5 separate regions of the Homo sapiens genome follow, and all the other regions are linked to region 2. The links are contacts of gene promoters, found by promoter capture Hi-C in human tissues and cell types (Jung and others, 2019). All regions are on one chromosome and are shown on one strand. The core of a region is centred on a gene start or on the middle of the fragment in contact, and the rest is flanking DNA. Distances in the headings are between cores, read along the strand shown. Region 1 has its middle 55 kb from the start of LINC02511. Region 2 holds the start of PCDH18 (protocadherin 18). Region 3 has its middle 230 kb from the start of SLC7A11-AS1. Region 4 has its middle 270 kb from the start of LINC02172. Region 5 has its middle 91 kb from the start of SLC7A11-AS1.

Region 1 (3,622 bases), core at 192-2,691, 260 kb after region 2:
GATAAAGTATTGCATAAAGTAATACATTGAAATATAGTCTGTAACACCAAGAAAGTGGGAACAACCCAAGTATTTATTAATAAAGGACTACTAAAATAAACTATAATACCATTATCATAAAGCAGAAAAAGATAATAAGATAACTTTCTATATTATAATATTAAAGAGCTCAAGATACATATGATGAAAAAGCCAATCTTTAGAATACTGTATAGAGTAAGTTTTATTTTTTGGAAGAAAGAGGAAAGTAATTGTATACAATTATAATTGCATAAAGCCACCTTGGAGTGATGCATCCAAAAGTAATGACAGTGGTTACCTCAAAAGCATTGAGGTGGGCTAAATTAGGCTGACAGTGATGGGTAGGCCTTCAACATGTTCTTTAAAATTGTATGCCTCTTGCATTTTGAACTATATGAATATATTACATATCCTAAATGAATGCAAATGGAAAATATATAAAAATTTAAAAGGCAGTTAGTCAAAATATTATATTCATAGCATTTTTGTTGCTGAAATAGTCCCAAACCCCTTTTTTTTAACTGATGAAAGAACATACTGAGGCATATGGCTTTGTCAAGTTCACAAAGAGATTTTCAGAACAAATTAGACCTGCAGTAATATACATTGTTAACATCTGGCTAATGTTCCGGTGAGTCTTTCTAAGACACATCCTCAAGTTCAGTCTTCACAATGGAGGCTGCACATTGTCAGGGAAATATGTATATCCAGGTTGAGAGTCAAAATGGAAGTGCATTTGCCTTCTTGCTCAGATTATCATATGTTACAAATAAATGTGATAGGTCAAGATAAAACCCATAAAGTTGATCTACAAGGACCAACTAACAAACAAAATTAAAGGAGGTGTGCAACATGTGGAAATGTTCCTCATAAGTATCTATGGTACATCTGTGAATGGAAACAAAATCGTATGCTCTTAGGTGTGCTTATCGAGATAGGAAATAGACATGAGTAATTTGCTTGTAAGGTGAGATTGTGCTATCTTAAATGCAGCAGAAATGTTACAATTGAACATTATCAATAAAGTGAATAAAAAAGTTTCTCTTTCATCAAATCTTCTAGGCTCTAGAGTTGAAGTTTTAAAAAATGAATGTTAACTTTATATTATAAAATATTATCTGTTGACTTTCACAAAGTTTTTAAATTATTAGTTTATATTTTTCCAAGTTACTCTAGTATTATATTGAAAATCTCTTAATAGCATGTTTTCATGATCTCTGAATGTCATAAAGAGTTGTAGTTTTTTCATGTTTCTATAATATATATTTAACTGTCACCATAATTGCAAGTTTTTAATCTTAAACTAAAATTTTGTTCATTATGCTACAATGAATCAAGGAATAACATGAATGAACAGACACAAAATATTCTTTTTCTGTTTTTAATCTTCATCTTAAAGTATAATTTCTATGAAACAGCAGAGTTTACAAGGGATTAAATTAATATGGAAAGCTTTAAATCAAGACCTATTATCTATATTCATAGTGTTTAGGAATATAAGACTTTAGAATTAATCCTGGATTTTTGTTTCTCTTTTCCATTACTCTCCTATGGTATGTAATGCAATGTTTTGTTTTGTTTTGTTTTGTTGCTGAAAAAGGCATTAAAAACTCCCACTGGGAGCTGAAAAATATAACAGTGGTTTTCCAAAATGTAGATCGAGGAAAATTAGTTTGTTTCATATTTTTTTTTTGCACCATGCTCTGGGGTCTTTTGATCACCTATTATTTATCCTGCTGGTGAGGAAGATATCGTCTCCTTTACCTAATATGAAAAAAAAAACAAATATATGATGACCAATATTGCACAAATGAAATCAAACAAGTTTATTGTTAAAACATACCCATAGCTCCAGAGTAGTATCAGGCATGACACAAGGCCATGCAGAGGGTGCACAGGGGACAAAGCTGAACAAGCAAGGGCTGTGGGAGGCAGGCTTGGTAGTAATGAGAGGGTGAAGTACCTGAGAAAGATACGAACTTGTTCTAATAACTTGTTTGAGGTGGCAGGCATAAAAAACCTGTTAGGTTGAGGACCAGATGGCGAGCAGCTGCCTCACCTGATCCAACTAGCTGGGTCAGAGTATGTCTGTTGAGAGCAAGGAGACTCACCTTTAGGCCTTTTGTGCCCCACAAGGTTCAACAATGTGAAAGCAGCGGCATGTGAAATTGTAGGCTTATAATACTTAAGATTGTAGTCTAAAATATTATAGTAGTCCTCCCTTATCCATTGATTCACTTTCCGTGATTTCAGTTACCCACAGTCAACCAGGGTCCAAAAATATTACATGGAAAATTCCAGAAATAATTCATAAGCTTTAAATAGTGTGCCATTATGAGTAATATGATAAAATCTCACACCATCTCACTTGGTTCCACCCATAACATGAATCATCACTTTGTCCAGTGTATCCAAGCTGCACACACTACCCACTTAGTATCCCTCTGGGGTATGATATTAACTGTTGCGGTATCACAGTGTTTTTGTGCAATTAACTCTTTACTTAATAATGGTGCCAAAGTGCAAGAGTAGTGATGCTGGCATATTGTTATAAATGTTCTACTGTATTTTTAGTCATTGTTGTTAATCTTTTACTGTTCCTAATGTAGAAATTAAACTTTATCATAAATATCAATATATAGGAAAACATATAGTGTATGTATAAGCTTTGGCACTAGCACAGTATTAGGCATCTACTGGGAGTCTTGGAACAAATATATTTCCATTTCTCCCTGTATTAGTCAGGGTTCTCTAAAAGGACAGAACTAATAGGATAGATGTATGTATGAAGGGGGGTTTATTAGGAGAATTGACTCACACAATCACTAAGTGAAGTCCCACAACAGGTCACCTGCAAGCTGAGGAGCCAGGAAGCCAGTCCAAGTCCCAAAACCACAAAAGAAGGGAAGCTGATAATGCAGCCTTCAGTCCGTGGCTGAAGCCTGAGAGCCCCTGGCAAATCACTGCTGTAAGTCCAAGAGTCCAAAAACAGAAGAACTTGGAGTCTGATGTTCCAGAGCAGGAAGCATCCAGCATGGGAGAAAGACAGAGGCCGGAAGACTCAGCCAGCCTCGTCCTTCCAGGTTCTTCTGCCTGCTTTTCTCCTAACTACTCTGGCAGCTGTTAGATGGTGCCCACCCAGATTGAGGGTAGGTCTGCCTCTCCCAGTCCACAAACTCAAATGTTAATCTCTTTTGGCAGCACCCTCACAAACACATCCAGAAACAATACTTTGCAGCCTTCAATTGGATCAAGTTGATACTCAATATCAACCATCACACCCCCTATAATGGGGTACTATTGTTTACTTCTCATGAGAGAAGTTTCCTATTTGCTTTTTGTTTGCTTTTGTTCTTCCGTAGACTAAATTTTCTTGTCTCCCTGAAAGCTCAAGAGATACATCATTCTTTTATGTGAAATGTTCAATATTGCACAATTAAAATCTTATATAGCACCCCCAGCAACTGAAATAGCTAAAAGGATGGACTGCGGATTTAACAACAAAAAGATTATATTGATATGTAAAAATTTTAAGGCATATGTATAATTTTATGGAGCATTCTATTGTGATGATTTTATTCTCCATAAAATATAAAGAGGT
Region 2 (3,294 bases), core at 491-2,990:
TTTTCCTAGTTTGCCTATAGGGTTTGGGGATCAGCAATTTGAAAGGGCTACAAACTTGTAAAACAGTATTATTCATGGGGGCAGAATGTTCATCAGCGTGACCCAGTACTAAATACATTCATTATAGGCATTTCTATTCTGCACAATTTGCCACACAGCACTGATTTCAGGAGGGGGAAAAAAAGACAATGGCTTATAAAATGCTTTTGAATGCCTAAAAAGAAGGAGAATTCACGCTGAGACTCCTCTGCTTTCTTTTTTGGAAAGAGCCTTCTTAGTGACTTTAGCTGAGCTCTGCTGAGAGTAAGCAAAGTGGAAAAATCAGAAAATTACTTTTTTTATATGTTTCTGGGGGGCAAAATAGACAGTGAGAAAAAATAAATGGAAAAAAGTGACAATGACATTCTGTGAAACAGCAAATATGCAAGCGGATGAAGACAGCTGAGGAATAAGGAAAAAGGTATGAAAAAAAGCAGCAAAAATGGAGCCACGATGATAAACTTAAAAGGAATTGCAGAGCAGAAAGAACATCATAAATAATCATATTTTCAAATAAGAATACCGTATCAGTTTCTGTGACCTGGATAGAGCACAAGCCTCCCATGATATTTCCTAGCATTTTGATGCATACAAAATGCAATTTTCAGCTCAGGCATTTGATTTGTCAGTGTAAACAACCTTTGGGGTTTTTAAAATACATATCTGAAGTGTTTTCATAAATAATGCATATATTATAAAAATTTGACTTGTAAACTATTGAGTCCATGTCCCCCCTGTATTCACTGCAAAGACTAGCCATGTATAGATAGTGCCTTTTGGTAGAAATTGGCATGCTAAAGCTTGCAGTGTCTTTTACCCAAGATAAATAGGATTTTTTTGAAGTACAGGACAAAGAAATATTACAAACAATTTTGCCCAAACTCAAGGAAAGAAATCATACAAGGTAGAACTATATTGTTAATTAGTTCCAAATTCTGAGGTGTTCCCTTAAGTCTTGCTAATTAAGAGAAATGAAGAGTGCAAGATAGCCCTTTTTTTATCTTCAAAGAATAAAGATGAAAGAAAACAGAAAATGAAACCTCTTTACTTGCTCCGTTCTTTAAAAACAGAGCCCCAAGAAAATCTGCTTGTGCTCCTGGAAGGAGAAAGGCCCAAGTATTTACAGAGGGAGTGGGGAAGGAGGTGGTCTGAGAAGCATAATTAGAAGCAAGTTTTCAAATTGTATTAAATTCCTCCACCAACAAAACGCACTTAGAGGTATTTTAAGTTAAACTAGCACTTAAGGACTATGAAAAGCAAGATGATTACATGTCTGTGGCAGAAGAAAGGGCAATTAAGAAAACAAGAAGAATTTAACGTGCCATATAAATAAAGGCGACCAGAAGTTGATTTAAAGTTTTTCTTCTGTAATTTGTCTCCCCTTTGTCATGGCACGCTCAGAGAAAGTGAATGCAGTAGATTGAAAGGCGGAGGGGGAGTGGGGAGGAAGAAGGAAGGAACAGGGAAGGACTGGCTCCCATCTCCTCCCCCAGCCCCCACCAGCCCATCTCCCCTTCTCTCCCTCGCGCACCCACCCCCGCCTTCCTCCTTCTCCGTCTCTTTCTCTCTCCCACCCTCCACTCTCGCCCTCCCTCCTTGGGTGACTCCATCAGCTTTTGATTTGGAAGCACGCTGATTGGCTGGAAGCGATTCAACACACGCTGGGCAAGAGCTTTGTCTGAGTTGAAGTGAAGTTGTACAGATTTTAGACTGGAGTCAGCAATCACGGGTGTTTAGTCTGCAGCCGAGCAGCTAAAGGGAGAAAGAATCGCTCAGGAAAGACACACTGCAGACTCCACCGGCACCCTGCAATAGATGGATTCCGACTACACAAGGGAGAAAACGCGGAGGTGACACTCTCCTGCCTGGAAAGAGGACGAACGACCAAACAAACGCAAGGACTGGACTCCATGCCGAAGGTATCTGGAAGTCGTGACACGGTGTGTATAAAACAAAAGTTTGCGAGCTGTTAATTGCTGTGCTGTGTTATTAAGAGACGCTTTCAAGTTTCAAGTACCAAATGTAGCTTTACGTTGCCAAAGGAAGTTGAGGCAATTGCTTTGCTGTTTTAACTTGCTCTGTGAGGGAAATCTCATAAACTGACCAATGCACCAAATGAATGCTAAAATGCACTTTAGGTTTGTTTTTGCACTTCTGATAGTATCTTTCAACCACGATGTACTGGGCAAGAATTTGAAATACAGGATTTATGAGGAACAGAGGGTTGGATCAGTAATTGCAAGACTATCAGAGGATGTGGCTGATGTTTTATTGAAGCTTCCTAATCCTTCTACTGTTCGATTTCGAGCCATGCAGAGGGGAAATTCTCCTCTACTTGTAGTAAACGAGGATAATGGGGAAATCAGCATAGGGGCTACAATTGACCGTGAACAACTGTGCCAGAAAAACTTGAACTGTTCCATAGAGTTTGATGTGATCACTCTACCCACAGAGCATCTGCAGCTTTTCCATATTGAAGTTGAAGTGCTGGATATTAATGACAATTCTCCCCAGTTTTCAAGATCTCTCATACCTATTGAGATATCTGAGAGTGCAGCAGTTGGGACTCGCATTCCCCTGGACAGTGCATTTGATCCAGATGTTGGGGAAAATTCCCTCCACACATACTCGCTCTCTGCCAATGATTTTTTTAATATCGAGGTTCGGACCAGGACTGATGGAGCCAAGTATGCAGAACTCATAGTGGTCAGAGAGTTAGATCGGGAGCTGAAGTCAAGCTACGAGCTTCAGCTCACTGCCTCAGACATGGGAGTACCTCAGAGGTCTGGCTCATCCATACTAAAAATAAGCATTTCAGACTCCAATGACAACAGCCCTGCTTTTGAGCAGCAATCTTATATAATACAACTCTTAGAAAACTCCCCGGTTGGCACTTTGCTCTTAGATCTGAATGCCACGGATCCAGATGAGGGCGCTAATGGGAAAATTGTATATTCCTTCAGCAGTCATGTGTCTCCCAAAATTATGGAGACTTTTAAAATTGATTCTGAAAGAGGACATTTGACTCTTTTCAAGCAAGTGGATTATGAAATCACCAAATCCTATGAGATTGATGTTCAGGCTCAAGATTTGGGTCCAAATTCAATCCCAGCCCATTGCAAAATTATAATTAAGGTTGTGGATGTTAATGACAATAAACCTGAAATTAACATCAACCTCATGTCCCCTGGAAAAGAAGAAATATCTTATATTTTTGAAGGGGATCCTATTGATACATTTGTTGCTTTGGTCAGA
Region 3 (3,393 bases), core at 626-3,125, 320 kb before region 2:
GCAATTTAATATTGTCACTAGCCAGAATATGAAGCCAATTGTTCAAGCACCAAAGGGATGAAATGAGTCAAATTATTAAATGGTAGTAGAGGTAGCACAGTGATGGATAAGTAACCAGCATCCACGTTGACCCTGTTAAATTTTGTGTATTTGTGCTAAAAAGAATTGAATTGCCCACTGCATTTAAAGAGTAATAGATGAAGCACACATAAATGGTAATGCTTTTAATTATAAACTCATTTTATATTATAAAATAATATAACCAGATTATAAATATCGAGAAAATATACAAGAGAAATGACATTCATAATCTTATGCCTTTGGTTACATCTCTGTAAACATTTGGTCATCTTTTGAACAAACTTAGACTCTTCTGTCCCTGCTGTTCCAAATGATTACTATGTATGTTCATGCTCATTTCACATTGAAGTTGTAACAAGTTACCACAAATTGAGTGGCTTATAGGAAAGCAAAGTTTTATTTCATATATATGGAGGTCAAAGTCTAAAAAAGAGTGGCAGGGCTGCATTCCTTCTGGAGGCCTTAGGAGGCAATCCATTTCCTTGCATTTTCTAGATTCTAGAGAATGCCAGCATTCCTCAGCTTATGTCCCCTTCCTTCATCTTTAAAGCAGTAGTGTAGCATGCTCTAATCTTTCTTTCTGTTCCTTTGCTTCTGTCGTCACTTCATCTTCTGTCTGATTCTAATCCTGTCCCACTCTTAAAAGGACCCTTGTGATTATCCAGGCCAACCTGGATAATTCCGGATAATCTCTCCATCACAAAATCCTCAAATTAATTACATCTGCAAAATTTCCTTGACCATGTAAAGTAACATATTCCCAGGTTTTGAGGATTGAGACATGGACATTGCTGTGGGAGAGGGAGTCATCATTCAGTCTATCACACCATGGTTTCTTCTGGAACCAACGAGCAGAAAAGCTAATGACAAATAATATATCAGTAACCCTAAATTTACAAATTATCAGAATTTGAAAATAATTTCTTTTATTTGCTGCAGATTGACTTCTCTAAGGAACTACCTCAGAACTATGTATGTGTGAAGTATACTGGGGAAGGCTCTAAGAAACACCTGTGAGAGTAAAGGAAGCAGCATTAGTCAGAAGTTTAACTGGGATGCAACAGAGACCTCATCCAATCTCAGAGACAGCTCTGAAGCTGAAATGCATGTGGGCTTTGCCTTTGTGTTCTTCATTGGTGCCGCTGTTGGGGAGTGTGAAGCAAAATCTTGAGAAAAGCAACTTCTTTTTGCACAATTATGAGGTGTCAGCAGCCAACAATGCTGGCAGCTAGGGACTGGGTATCTTGGACTTGAAAGTGTATCTGGTTAGCTTGCCACAGCAAACACTATGCTGATCCTCTAGCAAAGGTGTGTCAGGAATTGGTGGGTTCTTGGTCTCGCTGACTTCAAGAATGAAGCCGTGGACCCTCGCGGTGAGTGTTACAGTTCTTAAAGACGGTGTGTCCAGAGTTTGTTCCTTCAGATGTACAGATGTGTCCAGAGTTTCTTCCTTCTGGTGGGTTCGTGGTCTCGCTGACTTCAGGAGTGAAGCTGTGGACCCTCATGGTGAGTGTTACAGCTCTTAAAGTCAGCACGGACCCAAAGAGTGAGCAGCAGCAAGATTTATTGCGAAGAGCGAGAGAACAAAGCTTCCACAGTGTAGAAAGGGACCCCAGCAGGTTGCCACTGCTGGCTTGGGTGGCCTGCTTTTATTCCCATATCTGGCCCTACCCACATTCTGCTGATTGGTCCATTTTACAGACAGCTAATGGGTCCGTTTTATAGACAGCTTATTGGTCTGTTTTGACAGAGTGCTGACTGGTGCGTTTACAATCCTTTAGCTAGACACAAAAGTTATCCAAGTCCTCACCAGATTAGTTAGACACAGAGCGCTGATTGGTGTGTTTACAAACCTTTAGCTAGACAGAGAGTGTTGATTGGTGCGTTTACAAACCTTTAGCTAGACAGAAAAGTTCTCCAAGTCCCCACCCGACCTAGAAGCCCAGCTGGCTTCACCTCTTAATGGGACTCACGAGGGGCTTTGCAGCACCTAGCCAAGGCACTCTGGCAGCCCAGAGGGAGCTCCTCCCCTGATCAAGTCCAGCAGGCGTGGCCTGCCGGCCAGAGGGCGGGGCCTGAGGAACCCGCGCCCATCCGGAACCCGCGCCGGCCTGCAAGCGCCGCGCGCCTCTCCCTCCACACCTCCCCGCGAGCAGAGGGAGCCGGCTCCGACCTCGACCAGCCCCAGAGAGGAGCCCCCACAGTGCAGCGGCAGGCTGAAGGGCTCCTCAAGCGCGGCCAGAGCGGACGCCGAGGCCGAGGAGGCACCGAGAGCGAGGGCTGCTGGCACGTTGTCACCTCTCAAAGGTATAATCTACAATTAATGAAAGCATATAAATAGCTAACCATCCCACCACCTTTCTTCATCTAGGGTATGAATTTTCTCTTTCACCTTCCTCACAAGGTATTGAGTCCCATAAGGAGGATTCAATTCTCTTTACCAGTCTGTTCGACAAGCAGTTGCCTGGTCTTTCTCTTGATCTTTCAAGCTCCATTTTTTAGGAGCTAGTTCTTTTTTTTTTTTTAATTGTTTTCGTACATGAATCTTGTAAATGGCATGGTTCTATATCTGACATGACTATTCTACTGAATTACTACAAGCTCTCATATTTGCTGTACTTTTAAGTTCCTACTATGCAACTCCACACAACTCTATACAGCTCATTCATTTACTTGTTTTATTTGTTCATTTCTTCATTGCTTTACTCAACAAATATGATACCAAATAAGGGTCAGGCTTAGTAAATAAAAAAGGTATCCCCACTCTCCTTATAGGGATTGTAATGTTCAAAGGAAGATTCATAACAATAATGAAAACAAGAAGTTAATTGGGCTTCCTTCAGGGTGTGAAAGGCGAAGAAGAGAAGTTTTTCTATCCTGAATACAATATAGTACGATCTAGAAAATCTACAAAATCACAACTTTTCTTGAATTGATCAGCGACCTGTGGTTGTAGGGCAACCAACAAAGCCAATATCTAAGGAAAGGCAGACACCTCCAAGGAGAGACATGATGCTAGCTCTTGTTTGCTTACAGTAGACAAAGAACACCAGGCAGGCAGGTAAGAACTCAGTTAAAATTTTTAATAAATTGCTAAATGTTGAGCATAGGAGAATGTGAGCATATAGAAGTATTAGAAGCCACACATACAAAGGGAATTTGGAGAGATTCACAGGTTCTTCCCCACAGGCCTCACTGTGAGCTCATGATGAAAAGTGAAACAAAAACCCTCAGAAAAACTCCTCTCTGAAGCTTGCCTGGGAAAGACGTACAGCAGCATCTAGGCCCCTATCTTCCCTATGAAACCAAAGC
Region 4 (3,456 bases), core at 352-2,851, 280 kb before region 2:
TTGTAGTTAGGAACTAGCAATCTTCTTTGTGAAGCATTAAGCACAATGTCTGGCATATAGGAAGTGTTATAAACATTAAATTGTATAATTTTTGTTGGATATATGAATTATTCATATATAAGGCCTCCTTGTATACCACTTAAAAGGTAAGGTTACATTAAATATCAGTAAGATCTCATTATAGCTGACAAAGTTTCCATATTTATTTCTATAATCATCCTATAATACATGAAATTCTAATGGTTAATACCAGCCATATTGTTACTTTATTTATTATTGTTGGATATATTATTTCTAGAGGAAAAGAAATTTTACAGACTGAGTTAATAATAGCGGTGGACAACTGTTTTGTAATTGGTAGGACCTCTATAATAATATAGAAACAAGGCTGATAAGGTGGCTGATGTGTTGGGCTACCATATCAGTAACTTATATTCTGATCTTGACTTTACATTTTTTGTCTTATCTTAATGCACGTTCATAAGTTATGAGCATTTCGCTTTTTCCTTCTCATAAAGCATTTTTTTTTCATGGGTGTTATAAGTGTTGTGAGGGCTACCAAATGAGTAAAAATCATTGCTATATATCTTTAAAGCATCTCAAGGAATGGACGAAGCTTCTATCTTAGGGGTCAGAAATTGTAAGGAATACAGATTAAATAATATTTTTCTTGTAGAGTTAACCTCACAGTGATCCTTAAACAGAGCTCATTTAACTCTGAACAAAATTTTCATTACCAGTTTAAATACAGTGATGCTAACCTATTTGTGAACCCTGGTCAGGGCTACTAATCTCATTGTCATTGCTTGTTAAGAACTTACTTTATTCCTATTACTTAGCATGATGACACAAGCTATTTTAATCCATTCACATTTTAACTTAGCAGAGCATACAAGCAAAGCTAACTTGAATTCCAGAAAAAGATCCCAAGTACCTTATTAATGTATTTTTCTCTTAATTGTACAAAAATAAAAAAGTCATGGAAATCAAAAGTAGGACCTTTTTACCTTCGAGGTATTTACTGTAGTTTCAGCATGTATTAGGCATCAATACAGAAAGATTCCTGGACAATACTTGATGAAGTCTACCCCCTCCCATTCCCCATGTTCATAGGAGCATGACCAGCAGACTAACGCAGCAAGCAGATGATGCTCCTGATGAAAAGGGCAGACCCAGTTGAGCCTGGGCTACGCTGACACAGACTTTGTTGCTCTTCATTTGGCAAAGGTAAATCTGAGTTGAGACTTTTCTTTGAAATGGTTGTGTGGCCATAGAGATGAAAAAAAATTATGTTAGCAAAAGTAAAGTAATTTTTTCTTTCTGAATCGTTTATAAAAATCTTCACAGTTAATCAATTTGATTCAGGGAAAAATCATGTATTGTGTATGATTTCCATGTATTTCATCAAATGTTTCATGACCTCTGTTGCCTAAAGGAAAAAAAATAAAGATTTTTCTCTCCACAATGTTTTAAAAATAACTTTCCAGGTTTTATAATATGTAAGAACTCTAATAATTACAAATCAAGTCACTGGATAAAGATGGCATTTGCTAACTTCTCATTCAAACCTACATATGCTGTTTCTAAGGAAAACACTTTGTTGATGTACTCAGACTGCCCAAGTTTCTGAGAAGTCCAAATCTAAAAATATGTGGTTCGATTAGGGTCTTTAATAACTGGTGTGTTTGTGTGTGGGTGCATGCTAATTTTAATGGCTGTCATCTAATTTGTTTTTAAATGTATATTTGACAGGAGTGATTGAATTAGAACAAGGATGCCATGTAAGGATAAAATATATATCCCATATGCTATTTAAGTTGTCTAGTTACAGGATGATGTTAATATCTATTTGTTTCTGAACAAGCTACTTTATTTTATTTAATAGCCTTTGTAATGACTCTATGCCTCTCTTTCTAAATTTGTGAAGTGGCACTTCCTGATGAAGAGCAATTTGTACCCAGTACATATGGAGAGTTATCTGCCTAACACAGATGCCTGAATAGGAATGAAGGAGAATAAGAATAGAAATAGTGGGAAAAATAAGGTCTAATATTTCCAAACAGGAAAACCCAGAAACTATACATGAAAATATAAAAAGTAAAATGCATGCGGCTAAATCTCACATGGCAAAAATGTATAAAACAACATAAGGACTCAAATTTATTTTCATTTTTACTTGAAAATATACATGCACTGGAGTCATGTGGTTACAGGAGCCCAAGGTCTCTCCAGGTGACTTCAAGCTTTCCTTTAAAACAGAATCTAATATTTTGAGAAATCGAAATAAGGATAGTTCCTCATATTTATTTAAAAAATAACAAAAATTAAATCACCTTGAACATCATTATAGATAGCACTTATTCAAAGTTTAATATGTCCTAAACACTTTGCTAGACATTTCAAATCTCTCCCTCATTTGATCCTTACTATCAGGTAGAAACCATGATTATCTCTATGTTACAGCTGAGAAAACTCTTTGAGAGGCAAATAATTTGTGCAGGATCATTTTGGTGTGCAACAGTAAATATGTATCAGTTATCGATTGCAGCAAAGCTTAGTTACATACAACAGACTGGAGGATTTACGTGCTAGGTGGCTGTCTCACAAGGCTTCCAAAATAGTGTTGACTAATGGCTGAGGGCTTGGTTTTTCTCTTTCATGGGTCTCTCCATGGGGTGCCTCCATTTTCTCTACTCACACTATGGTGGTTCGTTCCCAGAAGCAATACCACAAGACACAGGAAGTGGAAGCCTCCACTTTTTAAGCCCTGGCCCCAGAAAATGGCACAGAATCATTTTAGCCATATACTGCTGGTCAACCTGTCACAGAACCTGGGTTTATGGGGAAGAACATAAACCCTAGTATTCAATGGGAGGAATGGCAAAGCATTCGGGGCTCATATTCTTAAACTGCCACGGTATGACATCTTGCCACAAGTTATTTACATTCTCTTCACATGTAAAATACATTTAACCTTTTTCAAACTCCTAAAACATCCTATCTCATTATGAAATTGGTTTCAAGTTCAAAGTCCAGGGTTTCATCACCTAAATCAGATCCATGTGCAGGTGAAGCTCTTGGAATTTGGCTCCTACGGGACAGCCCGTTGAGTATGGTTCTCCTAATCTAAAGATCTGGGAACTAAAGAAACAAGTTATCTTCTCCCCAACACACATGAAGGAGAAAAAATGGCTGATTTTGTGAGTTTAAACAAAAAAGGAGAAATATCTTGGTATAAACATGCTAGAGGAAAAGCTCTAAAAGCATAGTGAATTTTAAAGTAAATTTCACTGAAAGTTTTAAAGTATAAGAGGAAGGAAGGAGAGAATGGGAAAGCAGGGTGGAAAGGGTTTTATTCTTATCCCAAATGAGGCAGAGAGATTATGGGTTAGAATAGAACAGGGGAACAGGCATAAGATAATTTCCATAAACATTCTCATTAAAAGGGAATAACAG
Region 5 (3,687 bases), core at 558-3,057, 470 kb before region 2:
ACTCTGAAAAGACACTATGACAAAAAAACAGTCAAAATCTTCAGTTCTCCAAACTCAGGGTCGTTAGGGTTCTTTTCTCAAAATTATCACACTTGACTTTTTGGGACTATTTATCCCAAAAAGCAGGGTAATATTATCAGCACTTCTCCATCACCCATCCTCTCCAGCACCCATTTTCTCATCCTGCCCAGTTTGTTCTAGGTTTGTTGGCTTTGAAGACTAGCTATTTAAGAACTAATGCAGAAAGGGGATGGAGAAAGATGCTCTGACTCAAAAATAATTCATTAAGAAGACAATTGCCTTGTTTTTCTGGTTGGTATACATTCTAGATCTAAAGCAGGAGGTAACTTGCCAATTTGTGAATCTGTGTGTCATTAGATTGTATATTACTGAAGCAAAGTTAGGATTTGCTACAACCAGTGCTAGTTTTTTAGTAACAAGTAAATATTCTCTCAAAATTCTGTAATAAGTTGTCTGAGTTTTTAAGGGTTTTAAGGCTTCACATTTCTATGTCATTTAAAACATTTTAGGAATCTGAAAGAGGTAAAGCAGATGACATGTAAGCTTAAAAATCTATGATCTAGGTTTACACCTCACTTGTTTTGAGACACATTCCCAGAATTTTACTGCAGCCTTTTGTCTTAGATCCAAGTTGTGAGAGTAGAACGCTCATTGTGATCTCTGTTCTAAACTTAGTATCAAATAAGGTCTGAAGTCTGCAGACAATTTAGCCATGTTGTTTCAAAGCTGTTCTACTGGGAAAATTTGTGGCCATCAAAATATGTAAAAAATGTGTGCTCAACAAATTAAACAGTAATGGTATTCTAGTAGAACTCTGAATACCATTTCAAGTGGGTAGGTATAATCATAATGAAGCATTTGGCAACGTGTGCTTGATATTTTAATGTGTGTAGAAAAAATAAGTTATAACTCAACTTGATTACTCCAACACAGAAATTAAATTAAGTACTGAACTTGAATTTGAGACCTTGAAACTACATGAGCTCAGCAACTGCTTTGTTTGTAAGTCCTTAATAAAGATGCATAAAATTTCCAGTGGTATAGAGAACATAATTTCTGACCTTGGGAAATTTGCAATCTGATGGATATTCCAACCTTCTGATGTTATGCAGACCAATAACTCAACATATTTTTTAAAAAAGGAAAGTCATAAACATAGCTGATCCTTGTAATGCTGATTTTTTTTTATTTAGCACAAGAAAAAGAAAGCTGCAATAAAAATAGAAAGGAAATGGTATATTTTTCTGTAAGTGGTAAATGACTTGAAAAAATTTATACATACAATGTTTCATCAAATCAATATTTTAAATGACTTTGTTTTAGAAGTTTGCTATCAGTAATAGCCTACTGACTACACTAAACTTCCAAATGCTGAAGAGCTCGTGATACTCAATACATAGTTTGAGTGATTAAATGAGCACATATAAAATGTTGTTAATTTAGAATAAGAACCATGGTTTCCCTTCCTTTTAAAAGGTTTTCTATGAAAGAGGTTTTCGAAAATTTTTTAAGCCTTTGTGAAACTTCAAAAATGTATACAGGTAAATAAACTCTTCTTTTTATGCATTGATTTAAAAATAGGCAATTGACTAGTGCTTTAAAAATCATTCTTTGGTTCATTACTAATCTCTTAATGTCTACTAAGCTTACTGCTTTCCTGCTACTCAGTAAAATCTATTAGAGGTTGCTATGGATCTTTGTAATGTGGGATTTTTGTAATGTGGGATTTTGTAAATGCTAGAAGCAGGTAACAGGCTGCCGGGTAACAGGCTAAGAATCTAGGAGGGAACACAATATGAGTTTCAACATGCTAGATTAATCCCATTTGCCCTTACATGTCAGCTCTCTACTCTTTTTTGCCCTGTTCTCTGACCCTAGAAGGTTAAGTGAGGTGAACAGCATTACTGGTTTCTAATAGGCTTTTGCCAGTGGAGAATGCAAGCAGCATACTATAAGAAGCAGGGAGTGAGGGATGGATGCTGTGTCCTTTGAGAGAAGATTACAACTCCTCTCAAGGCAGCTCTTCTTTGAAACTGTAGCATCCTCCCCTCCTCTGGCCTAGCCATGGAGGCATGGGGACAGCCCTGGGGTTCTACCTTATCCCTAATGGTTTTTCTACAGTACACCCTGTAGACTTGTTTATAAAAACTTTGTTAAATCCTTTGAGAATAATAATGATTTGAATATTAAATCTGTTTTGTTTGGGCCCCCATGAGAAGAAGGTTTTGAGTGGTACTTATGAAAACTTGAAAATATAAGAATGCATAATCTGCCTTATTCAATGTAGACAATGTTTATTATCACTTCAGATTTTTAGAGAATATTGATTAATCTTCTCTGAATACCCTTGCTTATTCTAGGTTTCATTTGTGAAGGTATAGAAGAAAGAAAAATATAATTACTGACTTTAATTGAAACTAAGTACTGATGAAGACAATAACAAAATTGCTAACTAGGAAAACATAAAGAACTTAATTGCTAAAATCAATATTTCACAAAATTTTAATTGGTCTTAATATTTAAGGTAGACATTTTATAAACTATTAATTGTAATATCTTTCAATGAAATATCATTTTCAACATGCTCAAAGAGGTACCAATGATTTCTTCTCCATTATTCTAAGCAAACTGAGCCTTCTTTGGCAGTAGCAATGACATCATTTGGATCCTAATTGAAATAAGAGTGCCTATTTCTTACTTTTATGCCCTTGACTACAGCACTAAAGCATCACCTTTCTGAAAAAGACTCAAACATGATAAGATAATTTTTAGAAAGCATCTAGGAAAATAATAAAACCACCTTTAAATTTTTGTTTAAATGTCTGTAAAGCATTCTTCCCCAAAGGAATGATGAAGAAACAAAAGAACCACTCATTCACTGCAGTTTTGTTTTTGCCTCTCTGTCTCTTTTCTGCAAGTGGATTTATCAGAAAGAATGCAATGAACATGAATTATGAAGTAAAATCTTTCCATGGGAAATTCTCACAGACATGTAAATTAATGGAAAAAAAATCTCTCAATTTCAAAACGCTAAACTCTGAATATTTTAAGGAAATGAAATTAGTTCTACTGCCTAAAATTGTTTCCTAAAAATAATACATTATATTGAAACACTGATGATTGGTATCATAAAATCTATTTTAACAATGCATCGTAGGGACTTTTTATTTATGTATAAACCAGATTGCTTCACAATATTATTATCTGTCAGATTTTTATTTTGAGAATGGTATCTGTCTCTGAGTTTGGGCTGTATAAATCAATTATACTTGTGATCTTGAAGTAAACACAGCCCACATTAATCTTTTGGTTACTTGTTTTGTTCCTAACACCTATGCAAGAGCCTTTATACATCATATGCATTTGTTTATTGCTGTCTTCAACTTTTTGATTCCTATAAGAAAAATTTCATCTCTATATCAGGATTATGAGTGTTTTTGGTTCATGGACTGTACTGTATGCTTCTTTAAGAGTTTCTAAAGTTCATATTATAGAGTTATGTACCCATTATAAATGTTTGTGGATGAGTTCAATGTTCATCCTATTGTGTAGCTTATGCTAAATTGTCTGATTATAGAAGTTCTATGAACATAAGAATAGTTATTTGAAACAAGCTTTAAAAACATAGAGGTTTGGTCTTGAAAAAGACCTTTCCAGGGCCGGGCC

The links. The method cuts DNA at HindIII sites, captures the fragments that hold promoters and counts their contacts. A contact is called where the count stands out against the background at its distance.
Region 1: a fragment that was not itself captured here is called in contact with the fragment with the promoter of PCDH18 in region 2 in 2 of the 25 tissues and cell types used here (dorsolateral prefrontal cortex and mesenchymal stem cells).
Region 3: a contact is called between a fragment that was not itself captured here and the fragment with the promoter of PCDH18 in region 2, in 1 of the 25 tissues and cell types used here (mesenchymal stem cells).
Region 4: a fragment that was not itself captured here is called in contact with the fragment with the promoter of PCDH18 in region 2 in 2 of the 25 tissues and cell types used here (heart left ventricle and mesenchymal stem cells).
Region 5: a contact is called between a fragment that was not itself captured here and the fragment with the promoter of PCDH18 in region 2, in 1 of the 25 tissues and cell types used here (mesenchymal stem cells).

What each region holds. Positions count from the first base shown.
Region 1 is chr4:137,266,004-137,269,625 of GRCh38, reverse strand. No RefSeq gene overlaps it. Among named protein-coding and RNA genes, the nearest start is that of LINC02511, 55 kb to the right of the region's middle. The HindIII fragment of the contact is 5,929 bases long and covers 1-3,622 here.
Region 2 is chr4:137,530,940-137,534,233 of GRCh38, reverse strand. PCDH18 (protocadherin 18) reads left to right here and starts at 1,740. Exons shown (of 4, transcript NM_019035.5): 1 at 1,740-3,294. The coding sequence starts at 2,146. RefSeq lists an enhancer at 1,712-1,831. The HindIII fragment of the contact is 2,929 bases long and covers 1-2,828 here.
Region 3 is chr4:137,852,450-137,855,842 of GRCh38, reverse strand. No RefSeq gene overlaps it. Among named protein-coding and RNA genes, the nearest start is that of SLC7A11-AS1, 230 kb to the left of the region's middle. The HindIII fragment of the contact is 3,490 bases long and covers 131-3,393 here.
Region 4 is chr4:137,812,059-137,815,514 of GRCh38, reverse strand. No RefSeq gene overlaps it. Among named protein-coding and RNA genes, the nearest start is that of LINC02172, 270 kb to the right of the region's middle. The HindIII fragment of the contact is 4,270 bases long and covers 1-3,456 here.
Region 5 is chr4:137,995,865-137,999,551 of GRCh38, reverse strand. No RefSeq gene overlaps it. Among named protein-coding and RNA genes, the nearest start is that of SLC7A11-AS1, 91 kb to the left of the region's middle. The HindIII fragment of the contact is 4,525 bases long and covers 1-3,687 here.